4 separate regions of the Homo sapiens genome follow, and all the other regions are linked to region 3. Evidence: promoter capture Hi-C in human tissues and cell types (Jung and others, 2019). All regions are on one chromosome and are shown on one strand. The core of a region is centred on a gene start or on the middle of the fragment in contact, and the rest is flanking DNA. Distances in the headings are between cores, read along the strand shown. Region 1 overlaps PBX4 (PBX homeobox 4). Region 2 overlaps ZNF253 (zinc finger protein 253). Region 3 holds the start of ZNF14 (zinc finger protein 14). Region 4 holds the start of TSSK6 (testis specific serine kinase 6).

Region 1 (3,131 bases), core at 269-2,768, 140 kb after region 3:
CATCTGGAATTTAGTAATAATAAAAAACTATTTTAAAAAGTACTTTTTAAAGGCTGGGTGCGGTGGCTCACGCCTGTAATCCCAGCACTTTGGGAGGCCGAGGCAGTTGGACCACCTGAGATCAGGAGTTCGAGACCAGCCTGACCAACATGATGAAACCCCGTCTCTACTAAAAATACAAAAATTAGCTGGGCGTGGTGGCATGCGCCTGTAATCCCAGTTACTCAGGAGGCTGAGGCAGGAGTATCACTTGAACCCAGGAGGCAGAGGTTGCAGTGAGATGACATTGCGCCACTGCACTCCAGCCTGGGTGACAGAGTGAGACCCTGTCTAAAAAAAAAAAGTACTTTAATCAACTGTAGTCTCAGGAAGCTGTCATTCTTGACCTTCCTACCAGTGAGCTGCTGGGGCTGAACGAGAAACCAATTTTTGAGAGTGTGGGTGTTCAGCCTGGGCACGCCTCTTCATAATTCCATCTGCCCCTGTGTGGATGTTACTGCATGAGTCTGTTAGTCTCAAATTCAGCAGTTTCAGGAGGGAAAACAAGAGTTGATACCAACTGTTGCCAGTGCAGCTGAGATGTCTGTCCATTTCAACCGCTGGTGTCGCCCCACCTCCCTACCCCCATCTGCCTAGGCTTTGAGGGCCATGCTCAGGACTCTTTTTTTTTTTTTTTTAGACAGAGTTTCACTCTTGTTGCCTAGGCTGGAGTGCAATGGCGCAATCTCGGCTCACTGCCTCCCAGGTTCAAGCAATTTTCCTGCCTCAGCCTCCCGAGTAGTTGGGATTACAGGCATCTGCCACCACACCCGGCTAATTTTTTGTATTTAGTAGAGACAGGGTTTCACCCTGTTGGTCAGGCTGGTCTTGAACTCTTGACCTCAGGTGATCCGCCCGCCTCGGCCTCCCAAAGTGCTGGGATTACAGCCATGTGCCACCATGCCCGGCGACATTTTTAATTTTTTATTTTTTATTTTTTTTTTTTTTTAATTAAGACACAGAGTCTCACTGTGTTGCCCAGATTGGCTTCAAACTCCTGGGCTCAAGTGATCCTCACACCTCAGCTTCCGCACACACCACCATGTCTAGGGGTCGCTGAGGACTATTTTTGGGGGGATGAGGTCTTAGTATGTTGCCCAGGTTGGCCTTGAACTCCTGAGCTCAAGTGATCCTCCTGCCTCAGCCTCCCAAGGTGTGGGGTTACAGGCAGGCGCCACTGTGCCTGGCCACTCAGGACTTTTGATTCCTCCAAGCTGAGTCCCAAGGCCGCTGCAGGGCTCAGAGCACCGGCCACCTGGGCATTTCCTTGGAAGCTAATGCTTTCTTCCCACTGACTGGCTCAAACATCTGGGTACAGGGTATGTTTTGGGGTACAGTAGGACAGGGATGAGACAGCAACTGCTCCTCCCTGAAATGCACAAGCCTGGAGCTGAGGGATGCCTGTTCCTGAGTGTCACCTGGAGTGTCCAGGTATCTTTTTATATCAGGAAGTGCAGTCAGTGAGTGCTGTGGGTCCCACCTGTGGGCCACCTGCCTTGATGTCAGGAACACCTCAGCCTTCTAGTCTCGGAGACAAACCAGCCAGTGGCAGGAAAGTAAACAGGATTTCGATTCTGCTCCATCTGTCCTCATCCCGTGACTAGGAATGGCCAAGTCTCAGCCCAGAGGAAACTGTTCATGGTCCTGATCCTGCACCCTGTGGTACCCACGGGCCGCCTCTTGAAGGGCAATCCCATGAGCCGGGGTCCTGGCGTGCTTCTCGATTTAACCCACAGTTCTCACATTTCCCTCTGGCTGAAGTCTGCAGCAGGCCTTATGGTAAAGACCAAACTTCCACAGAGCATTTAAAGCCTGGTGGGGCAGGACATGGTGGCTCACACTTATAATCCCAGTACTTTGGAATCGCTTGAGCCCAAGAGTATGAGACCAACCTGGGCAACACAGTAAGACCCTGTCTCTACAACAACAACAACGGCAAAGATTAAGTCTGGTGGGTATTGATGGAGCCTGGGCAGGCAGCTCGGGGCTTCCTCGAGTTGTTCCCCAGAGCCCTGCACAGCCTCGGGCAGACCCTTTTCTCCCGTTTTACAGATGGGCAGTGGGAAGCTCTAAGAGACAGGGGCCTCCCCAGGGCACACCAGTCACCCACAGCCAGGCTGCATGCCGCCCCACCCCGTACACTGTCCTCACTCATGAAAGGGACCCAGGGCCTGTCCCTCATGGCCGGCACTCATGGGCCCCACACACCCACCTGTGTCATCTGAACAATGACCATTCCTGGCCAGCGCAGGGTCTAGGATGCGCTATGTTCTCAGGGTCTGTCCCGGTGCCTTTCTGTTTTTGTTGATTGAAAAACTGTTTCTGGTGACTGATACATACTAACTGAAATCCCTTTCATCCAGTTCCCCTTATGAGGTTCAGAAGATTCAGTGTCTGGGGGCCTGACTTAGAACACAGGGCTTATCACTCACAGCAGCCTGAAAAGAACGTGGTCCTCCATGTAAACCTGGCATCACCGGATGCACTGCCAGCAGTCCCTGGTGAACCCCAGGAATGGCCTGTCGGAGGTATGCAGGCAGGTCCCTCAAAGCTTGTCTCCTGGGGTCAGCTTCACCACACCACAGTGTCTGGGTGTTCCTGCCCTGCGGTGGTCTCTGAAGGCCAAGGACACCCTCAGCGTATGCATTTCCTCCCAAACCCTCCTTCCCAGAAACAGCTGTCCTCCTCGGTGTCTAGAGGAGCTGTTCTGAGAACAAAATAAACCCTGATTAGTTGCAGAGCTTTGAATTTAGCTGGGAGAACCAGATACGGGCCACAGTCCCTTTGCTGAGACCCTGGGACTAGGTATGTTGCAGAATTCGAAAGCGTTGGATTTAAGATGTGTCACGTTGGCCAGGTACAGTGGCTCACGCCTATAATCCCAGCACTTTGGGAGGCTGAGGCAGACGGATCACCTGAGGTCAGGAGTTCGAGACCAGCCTGGCCAATATGGTGAACCACCCCCCCACCTCCCTCACCCACCCATCTCTACTAAAAATACAAAAACTAGCTGGGCATGGTGGCGGGTGCCTATAATCCTAGCTACACGGGAGGCTGAGGCAGAAGAATCACTTGAACCTGGGATGTGAGGT
Region 2 (3,218 bases), core at 11-2,510, 150 kb before region 3:
TATTTCCTTGAATGATACAAAAATACATTTTAAATAAAATACTTAGACAAAATAAACTAACAAATATTTTAGAAAAAATACAAAACAAGCCGGGCACGGTGGCTGATGCCTGTAATCCCAGCACTTTGGGAGGCCGAGGCGGACGGATCATGAGGTCAGGAGATCGAGACCATCCTGGCTAACATGGTGAAACCCCGTCTCTATTAAAAATACAAAAAACTTAGCCGGGCATGGTGGCGGGCGCCCATAGTCCCAGCTACTTGGGAGGCTGAGGCAGGAGAATGGCGTGAACCCAGAAGGCAGAGCTTGCAGTGAGCTGAGATTGCGCTACTGAACTCCAGCCTGGGGGACAGAGCAAGACTCCATCTAAGAAAAGAAAGAAAGAAAAGAAAGAAAAGAAAGAAAAGAAAGAAAAGAAAGGAAGAAAGAAAGAAAGAAAGAAAGAAAGAAAGAAAGAAAGAAAGAAAGAAAGAAAGAAAAGAAAGAGAAAGAAAGAAAGAAAGAAAGAAAGAAAGAAAGAAAGAAAGAAAGAAAGAAAGAAAGAAAGAAAGAAAGAAAGAATACAAAAAAAAGACATGACATTGGTCTTGGCACCATTTTTTTAGGTACGACATTAAATGTATGAGCAACAAATAAAAGAACAAAAAAGTTTAACTACACTATACTTCAAAATTTCTGAAAGAAAAAAATTTCAGGAGTGACAACGTCCCTTAGAAAATAGTTGAAAACATTTACATATTACTTGTTAAAAGAGTTAATATTCAAAATATATAAATGACTCTTAAAACTAACAGTAAATTTGAATAACTTGATTTAGAAATGGACAAATTTTTCTCAAAAAAATACACAAAATTGGAAAATGCATTTGAAAGCACACACAAAATTACTAATTTGTAGAGAAATGAAAAAAGAAACATAACAAACAAAATCACCTCATACCCATTAGAATGGCCACTATAATTTTTTTTTGATACACCAAATCTGTTGATGATGCAATAAAAATGAAACCCATGTTGACTGCTGGTGGAAAATAATGATGCAGCCATTATTTTAAAATGTTAGAAATGTTCCTTATTTATAAATCTATATCTAAAATACATAACACAGGCGAAGTGTAGTGGCTCAAGCCTGTAATCATAGCACACTGGGAGGCCAAGGTGGGCAGATCACCTGAGGTCAGAAGTTCAAAACCAGCCTGGCCACCATGGTGAAACACCATGTCTACTAAAAATACAAAAACTAGATGGGTGATGTTACGTGCACCTGTAATCCCAGGAACTTGGGAGGCTGAGGTAGGAGAATCGCTTGAACCCCAAAGGCAGAGGTTGCAGTGAGCTGAGATCACACGACTACACTCCAGCCTGGGTGACAGCGGGAGACTCGATCTCAAAAAAAAAATAAAAATAAAAATAACAAACAACAAAAGAAACAAAATATGTAACACAGGACCTGGAAGACATATTTGAAAATATATGTTTATTGTACCAGTATTCACAAAAGTCAAAAGGCTGAAGCAACCCAGATGTCCCTTGATTTATAAACATATCAAAAAATGTAACATATACATATGATGGAATATTATTCCACCTTAAAAATAACCATCTTGTCACATTTTAAGATGAAGATTGAGAATATTATGTCACCTGAATTAAACCAGTAACAAAATTATGGATACTATATGATTCCACTTATATGAGGTATCTTTTTTTTTTTTTTTTTTGAGATGGAGTTTCACTCTTGTTGACCAGGCTGGAGTGCAATGGCCCGATCTTGGCTCACTGCAACCTCCACCTCCCAGGTTCAAGCGATTTTCCTATCTCAGCCTCCCGAGGAGCTGGGATTATAGGCATGCGCCACCATGCCTGGCTAATTTTTTTGTATTTTAGTACAGACAGGGTTTTTCCATGTTGGTCAGGCTGGTCTCAAACTCCCGATCTCAGGTGATCTGCCTGCCTCAGCCTCCCAAAGTGATGGGATTACAGGTGTAAGCCACCACACCCAGCTATATGAGGTATCATAAGTAGTCAAAAATCATAAAACAGAAAGTTGAAGGTTTGTCTGTCAGGGCTGGAGAGAGGGTAAAATGAGCAGTTGTTACTTAATGGGAATTAAGTTTTAGCTTTATAAGATGTAAAGTTTCTAGAAGTCTTTTGCATAACAGTGTGAATATACTTAACATGCCTGAAATGAACAACTTTTTTTTGAGACAGGGTCTCACTCTGTCCCCCAACCTGCAATGTAGTGGCACAATTTTGAATCCCTCTCAATCTCCCAAGTAGCTGGGACCACAGGTGCACACCACCATGCTTGGCTATTATTAAATTTTTTTTATAGAGAGAGGTCTCCATATATTCCCCAGGCGGCTCTCAAACTTTTAGGCTCCAGGGATCCTCCTGCCTTGGCCTCGCAAAATCCTGGGATTACAGATGAGAGCCACAACCACACTTGGCCCTGAAATGTACACTTCAATAGATTTAAGACATTAAATTTTATGTTATGTGTTTTTAAAACAAGTTTTAAAGAAAAACAGAAAAAAATACAGAATTATAAATCCTTTTGAAAATTACCTTCAAATCACAAAAGTGCTTTTCTCACAAAAGGAAATATATATTCATCATTAAACACATGGAAAAAATAAAACTATCTCAATGACTGCTCACTTAAGATAAAACTACCATGGAAAATCAGCTAAGAAAGAATATAAGATAAGCCATAACTAAAATTGGGGTCATATTTATAGATAAACACACATACATATGTAATCTGATTGTAATAAACATGCATAATTTATCTTTTTTTTTTTTTTTGAGACGGAGTCTCGCACTGTTGCCTGGGCTGGAGTGCAATGGTGCAATCTCGGCTCATTGCAACCTCTGCTTCCCAGGTTCAAGCAATTTTCCTACCTCAGCCTCCCAAGTAGCTGGGATTACAGGTGCCCGCCACCATGCCCAGCTAATTTTTTGTATTTTTAGTGGAAACAGGGTTTCACTATGTTGGCCAGGCTGGTCTCAACTCCTGACCTCTTGATCCACCCACCTCAGCCTCCCAAAGTGTTGGGATTACAGGCGTGAGCCACCGCATCCAGCAATTTATCTCTTAATTAAACCTCAAATTGACTTAAAGTGTACAAACAGAATTGCAAATTGTCTAAAATTGTAATACAAATTAAAACCAAGACACAATAAACTGATGTTAAGAAACCTACACTAAGGCCGGAC
Region 3 (3,402 bases), core at 398-2,897:
GAGCCCAGGAGGTGGAGTGCAGTGAGCCGAGATCACGCCATTGCACTCCAGTCTGAGCAACAGAGCAAGACTGTCTCAAAAAAAAAAAAAGAAAGAAAGATAAATAGATCCAGAAAAATCCAGAAATTTGATATCTACATACAATAGAATACAATTCTATTCTATTGTATGTAGATTTAGGAACTGACTAATTTAGGAACTCTTTAAAAAATGTTTAAATAAAGCATTAAAAAGAAGTAAATTGGGGACAGGCGAGGTGGCTCACACCCCCAGCACTTTGGGAGGCCAAAGAGGGCAGATCACCTGAGGTCAGGCGTTCGAGACCAGCCTGGCCAACATGGTGAAACTCTATCTCTACTACAATACAAAAATCAGCCGGGAGTAGTGGTGGGCGCCTGTAATCCTGGCTACTCAGGAAGCTGAGTCAGGAGAATCACTTGAACCTGGGAGGCAGAGGTTGCGGTGGCTGAGCGCCACTGCACTCCAGCCTGGGCAACGAGAGCGAGACTCCATCTCCAAAGGAAAAAAAAAGAAGTAAATTGGCCGGTGGCAGTGGCTCACACCTGTAATCCCAGCACTTTGAGAGGTCGAGGCAGGAGGATTGCTTGAACCTAGGAGTTCGAGACCAGCCTGGGCAACAGAAGGAGACACACATCTCTACCAAAAATTAAAATTAAAATTAAAACAATTAGCCAGGCCTGGTAGTGCGTGCGTGTAGTCCCAGATACTTAGGAGGCTCAGGTTGGAGGCTTGCTTGAATCCAGGAGTTGAAGCCTGCAGTGAGCAATGATCACACCACTGCACTTCAGCCTGGGCTACAGAGCAAAACCCTGTCTCTTAAAAAAAAAAAAAAGAAGAAGAGGCCGGGCGTGGTGGCTCACGCCTGTAATCCCAACGCTTTGGGAGGCCGAGGCCGGCAGATCACGAGGTCAGGAGATCGAGACCATCCTGACTAACACAGTGAAACCCCGTCTCTACTAAAAAAATACAAAAAATTAGCCGGGCGTGGTGGCGGGCGCCTGTATTCCCAGCTACTCGTGAGGCTGAGGCAGGAGAATGGCGTGAACCCGGGAGGCGGAGCTTGCAGTGAGCCGAGATGCGCCACTGCACTCCAGCCTGGGCGACAGAGCGAGACTCCGTCTCAAAAAAAAAAAAAAAAAGAAGAAATAAATCCTAACACATACTACAAGGTGAAGCTCGAGGACATTATGCTAAGTGAAATAAGCACGTCAGGAAAGGACAAATACTTTATGACGCCATTTACATGAGATTCCCACAGTCAAATTCACGAACTCAGACAATGGAATGGAGGTTGCAAAAGACCCTGAGGGAAGGAGGTGCACGGGGAGTTGTGCAACGAGACAGATTTCAGTGTTGCAAGATGAAAACAATTCTGGAAATTGGCTTCACAATGTGAATGTATTTAACAGTACTGAAGAGAACACTTAAAATGGATGGGAGGCAAAGAACACATTCGGTTTAAACGCAAACGTCCTGGCGGGGACAAGCCGGACTGAAGCCAGGCCAGCTCAACCACGCCCCTTCCTGCTCCGCTGTCACTCAGTGATAAAGAGGCGGGGCCATTGGATCTGTCCAATCAGGACCTCAGCTGAAAAGATGTGAGCGGCGCCACGCTGGGCCTGCGCAGTGCGGACGTCGCCATTCCTGGCCCATGGGAAGATTGCGTTTCACCTGCTCCTGAAGGCCGAAGGTGGCTCTAGCGCATCCTTTGTCGCGCCGTGACCTGCAGGTACTGACAGATCCGTAGGGAGGACACCGTGACTTCCCGGACGCTGGGAAATGGTGAGTGTGCGGGGCCAGTGTCCGAGGGGAGGTTTCTGGTTGGAACCGTCTGTGGCCGAGGCCGGGGACCTCCTTGCAGTCAACTCCGGGGTTTGCAGACCCGGGGGCCACCGCGGGCGCAGTTCGGCCCTCGGTCCTCTCTGTGGGAGCTGGACCCGCAGCCGGGAGCCCCAGCGTCCTGTCCCGTCCCCGCGGGGCGACCTCGGCCCCCGGTCCTGGAGCCCTCTATGGGCAGCTCTGCGCCCGCAGCCCCGCGTCTCCCCGGATTGTTCGGTGACAGCGGGAGGGTCCTGGGGAGATCCCATCTCGGTCTGTGGGGTTTGTGCGTTTAAGAAACCACTTGGTTGGAAACCTTACGATGAATCCACGGGTGCGTTTCCTCACTTGTGAGAACCGAAGCCTGGCTAGGTCCTTGCTGCCGGGGTCAGGTTCCTGTGGCTGTTCAAACGCCCCTGCCCTCATCACCAGGGACTGACCCCCTCTAGTGCTCCCAGCACTCAAGTCTGGGGGTGTTTTTGACCTTCTGAATGTGGGCTTTCTTTTCGAACTGCGGGGAAGGGGACTCCTTATCTTAACTGATCAGAAAGTTTGTGTTTCTTCCCTTTGGACTCCTTGATCAAATATTAATTCTAGCCACCCTTAATTCCAGTTTCCCTTCGCTCTGGGTAATTTTGTTCCCTTGCGTGAATGTGTGCGATTTTTAGTTTCTTTGGTTTCTGGATGGAATTAATTGTGAGCTTGTTCAGGTTCTTTTAAATTTTCTTGTTTGTGTGTGTTTATCTGTGTGGTTTCTACCCAAGAGATTTCGCCTATGTTGGAGTGCCATGATGATGCAAAATCTCTGTATGTCATTTGTTCCGTATATAAGTGGTAAGCATTTTTTTTTGTGTGTGACGGAGTCTCGCTCTGTCGCCCGGGATGGAGTGCAGTGGCGCGATCTCCAGCTCACTGCAAGCTCCGCCTCCCAGGTTCAAGCCATTCTGCCTCAGCCTTCCCAGTAGCTGGGACTACAGGCGCCCGCCACCACGCCCAGCTAATTTTTTTGTATTTTTAGTAGAGACGGGGTTTCACCGTGTTAGCCAGGATGGTCTCGATCTCCTGACCTTGTGATCTGCCCGCCTTGGCCTCCCAAAGTGCTGGGATTACAGGCGTGAGCCACCGCGCCCGGCTAAGTGGTAAGCTTTGAGGTGTTTGTGAGAGTGATGTTTATGACACACACCACTTTGATACATTCTGATTGTAAGTGTATGTTGTGATTTTTTCTTTCCTCGTGTGGTTGTAATAGGTCAGTGTGTTTTTCTCTGAGCAATTAACCAGTGGAAGGTTCCTAAGTCTAGAGTCATTGTGGGTAGTTTTGTTGTTGTTTTTTTTCTTTTTTTTGAGATGGAATCTCACTCTGTCGCCCAGGCTGGAGTGCAACGGCATGATCACAGCTCACTGCAACCTCTGCCTCCCTGGTTCAAGCAGTTCTCCTGCTTCAGCCTCCTGCATAGCTGGGATTACAGGCACCCACCACCACACCCGGCTAATTCTTTTATTTTTTAGCAGAGATGGGGTTTCACCATGTTGGCCAGGCTGGTCTTGAACTCCTGACCTCAG
Region 4 (3,430 bases), core at 566-3,065, 220 kb after region 3:
TAATCCCAGCTTCTCAGGAGGCTGGGGTGGGAGGATGGCTTGAGCCCAGGAGGCGGAGGTTGCCAAGAAATCACTCCAGCCCAGGCAACAGAACCATACCGTCTTAAAAAAAAAAAAAGAAATGTATGTATTCACTCTTAGATTACGTTTAAAAGTTTCTATTTGTCTGTTAACCTGGGGACTGAGTATGGGCGCCTTTTAAGTTCTCTTTTTCAATTTTCTGTGCTGAGCCCGATAACAAAATTTAACGTGTTACTTAAACATTTGAAAACTTTACGCCGGGCATGGTGGCTCACGCCTGTAATCCCAGCACTTTGGGAGGCCGAGGTGGGCGGATCATCCGAGGTTGGGAGTTCGAGACCACCCTGACCAACATGGAGAAACCCCGTCTCTACTAAAAACACAAAGTTAGCCAGGCGTTGTGGCACATGCCTGTAATCCCAGCTACTCAGGAGGCTGAGGCAAGAGAATCGCTTGAACCCAGGAGGCGGAGGTTGCGGTGAGCCGAGATGGCGCCATTGCACTCCAGCCTGGGCAACAAGAGCAAAACTCCGTCTCAAAAAAAAAAAATTGAAAATTTAAAGAATATGGATTCCTGTGACACCATGCAGGCGGGGGCTGCCAGCAGGGAACCACTGCATAGAACATCTTGTAAATTCCCTCCAGGTTCCGGGTTGCGGCCTCAGCTTTGCCTTGGGGAGCCGCGGCCTTCTTTGGGCCTCAGTTTCCCCATCTTAGAAATCCAAGGGTGGCTGAGGGCCAGAGCACAGGCTATGACTCAGTTTAACCCACTGTAAAACGTAAATAACTAGAGGGACCGATTTCCTGGGCTGTTACGAGAAGGAAGAGGAGCTGGGAAAGACCTCAACAAACTGCAGCACTTAGCGTTATTACAGAAGCTATGATGGATCCCCGGGCTCCGCCTCCGGTCACACCGCCGGGAAAACTGAGGCCCGCCTGTGTCCCCGGAACCCCGCCCCCGAGCCCCGAGTGCCCAGACTCTGAGACCCCGGCGCAGAGTGATACTGACCCGACAGTCCTCGACGCGGCAAGTTCCGTTTGTAGTCGATGGGCCCATAGCCCCCCGGCGGAGGCATGTCCTGCTTCACCTTTGACGCCGCCATACTCGCAGTATCCCACACTTCCGGTCCCGGGCGGAAGTGACTTACTGCCACCGCCATGATGAGTGTGGCGGAAGCACTTGAGATGGTCCGCGGCACGGCTAGGAAGTCCCGGACAGTAGTGTAACTATCCGACCGCGCGGGAAAGCTCTGGCGGCGGACCCTGGGTAGGAATGCGCTGCCGGGCTGCAGCTGAGGGGTCTTTACTCCTCTTTTGCCCAGACAGGGCGTGACTCGCCTTGGTTCTTGCATTATAGGCCCTCGCGTTCACCTTGCCTCTGGGGTGTTGCGCAGGCCAGTCAGAAACTCCGAGCTCTCAAAGGAGCCAGGTGCCCCAGTTAAGGCCCCTTTTCCCGTTTTCGCCCCGTCTAGGGACTCTACGCGAAGCCCAGGGCTCCACGTAGTCACGGGCTGGGTACATGATGTTGGGGGGCAGCTGCTGCTCGAAGTCGGACTCACCCCAATCCCTGGAACGGATTCTGCTCCCTGGTGGTGATGGGTATCCCTTGCTAGTGGCCTCTCATCGGAAACTGACCATTCAGGATGATTATGAGTCACAAAGCAGGGAGGCTAGGGTGGCCCCGGGGCGGGGTCCCGGACCCCCACCCTAAGGCGGAGTGACGCCCGCAGTCACTTCACAAGGCAAAAATTGTTACGGGGCAATAAAAGGCACAACAGCGGCCAATGTCTGGCAGTGGGCACATGGGGGTGCGGGGGTGTAGGTGCCAAGCGCCATGGCTTAGACCCGAGATTGGAGTCCGGCCGCCCCCCGACAGCAGCCGCCTCCTGCCCCCCGTGCGCCCTAGGCGCCACCATGTCGGGAGACAAACTTCTGAGCGAACTCGGTTATAAGCTGGGCCGCACAATTGGAGAGGGCAGCTACTCCAAGGTGAAGGTGGCCACATCCAAGAAGTACAAGGGTACCGTGGCCATCAAGGTGGTGGACCGGCGGCGAGCGCCCCCGGACTTCGTCAACAAGTTCCTGCCGCGAGAGCTGTCCATCCTGCGGGGCGTGCGACACCCGCACATCGTGCACGTCTTCGAGTTCATCGAGGTGTGCAACGGGAAACTGTACATCGTGATGGAAGCGGCCGCCACCGACCTGCTGCAAGCCGTGCAGCGCAACGGGCGCATCCCCGGAGTTCAGGCGCGCGACCTCTTTGCGCAGATCGCCGGCGCCGTGCGCTACCTGCACGATCATCACCTGGTGCACCGCGACCTCAAGTGCGAAAACGTGCTGCTGAGCCCGGACGAGCGCCGCGTCAAGCTCACCGACTTCGGCTTCGGCCGCCAGGCCCATGGCTACCCAGACCTGAGCACCACCTACTGCGGCTCAGCCGCCTACGCGTCACCCGAGGTGCTCCTGGGCATCCCCTACGACCCCAAGAAGTACGATGTGTGGAGCATGGGCGTCGTGCTCTACGTCATGGTCACCGGGTGCATGCCCTTCGACGACTCGGACATCGCCGGCCTGCCCCGGCGCCAGAAACGCGGCGTGCTCTATCCCGAAGGCCTCGAGCTGTCCGAGCGCTGCAAGGCCCTGATCGCCGAGCTGCTGCAGTTCAGCCCGTCCGCCAGGCCCTCCGCGGGCCAGGTAGCGCGCAACTGCTGGCTGCGCGCCGGGGACTCCGGCTAGAAGCCGGGTGGTTCCAGCCATTCCTGCAGCCAAGGGCACTGGGCCAGGGCGGCGCACGCGCAAGAGGCGCGCTTCGAGGGAATATGCGAAGCTGCCGCGTGCTGCTGCACATGCGCTTTTTCCCTTCCGCTTCCCTCCCTTTCTTCCCACGGGGGAGTCCGCAGTTGCCCTTGTTCGGAATCCACGTTCCCCGCGATCCCGGGAGCTGGAGGCGCATGCGCATCCGCGATTCCCTGCGACCAGGCCCCGAGAGGGCGAGACCAGAGGGGACGGAAGCATTGCGCCTGCGCGGAACTCTCAGCCTCTGCGCGGAGGGCGTCCCTTCCCAACCAGCCGTGGGTGCCAGGTTCCCGGTTGGAACCTGCAATAAACTCGCTGTTCCTCGCACCTGGCTCTAACGGTGGCCCCCATTTGCGGACTAGTGGAGAAGCGATCGCTCCATCCGGGGAAGGCAGGCGCGGGTACCCTATTTTAGAGTCACGCATGTTGAGGTTATTGCTCCAAGACTCAAAAGGGAGTCGGGAGGATTCGAGCCTGGACCTTTTGAGCTCCCCAGTATGGGCAAACTCAAAGGAGCTTTGTTGTCCCCGGGTCGTGATGTCGCTGTGATGATGGGCTGGGAAGCAAGTGGACCCCAGCGCCTCGCCGTCCACATCTTTTAAGAATGGAACAG

The links. The method cuts DNA at HindIII sites, captures the fragments that hold promoters and counts their contacts. A contact is called where the count stands out against the background at its distance.
Region 1: a fragment that was not itself captured here is called in contact with the fragment with the promoter of ZNF14 in region 3 in 1 of the 25 tissues and cell types used here (bladder).
Region 2: a contact is called between a fragment that was not itself captured here and the fragment with the promoter of ZNF14 in region 3, in 1 of the 25 tissues and cell types used here (IMR-90 fibroblasts).
Region 4: a contact is called between the fragment with the promoter of TSSK6 here and the fragment with the promoter of ZNF14 in region 3, in 1 of the 25 tissues and cell types used here (adrenal gland).

What each region holds. Positions count from the first base shown.
Region 1 is chr19:19,591,942-19,595,072 of GRCh38, reverse strand. All of the region lies in intron 2 of PBX4 (PBX homeobox 4), which reads left to right. Among named protein-coding and RNA genes, the nearest start is that of PBX4, 25 kb to the left of the region's middle. RefSeq lists an enhancer at 1,833-2,457. The HindIII fragment of the contact is 8,394 bases long and covers 1-3,131 here.
Region 2 is chr19:19,882,560-19,885,777 of GRCh38, reverse strand. The region is part of intron 3 of ZNF253 (zinc finger protein 253); the gene reads right to left. Among named protein-coding and RNA genes, the nearest start is that of ZNF93, 17 kb to the left of the region's middle. The HindIII fragment of the contact is 7,378 bases long and covers 1-3,218 here.
Region 3 is chr19:19,731,357-19,734,758 of GRCh38, reverse strand. It overlaps ZNF14 (zinc finger protein 14), which reads left to right and starts at 1,647. Exons shown (of 4, transcript NM_021030.3): 1 at 1,647-1,803. The coding sequence starts at 1,801. RefSeq lists a silencer at 1,992-2,141. The HindIII fragment of the contact is 10,257 bases long and covers 1-3,402 here.
Region 4 is chr19:19,513,933-19,517,362 of GRCh38, reverse strand. TSSK6 (testis specific serine kinase 6) reads left to right here and starts at 1,815. Exons shown (of 1, transcript NM_032037.4): 1 at 1,815-3,144. The coding sequence starts at 1,936. The coding sequence ends at 2,757. It overlaps NDUFA13 (NADH:ubiquinone oxidoreductase subunit A13), which reads right to left and starts at 1,138. Exons shown (of 5, transcript NM_015965.7): 1 at 1,031-1,138. The coding sequence starts at 1,124. RefSeq lists an enhancer at 960-1,239 and a silencer at 1,450-1,569. The HindIII fragment of the contact is 21,153 bases long and covers 1-3,430 here.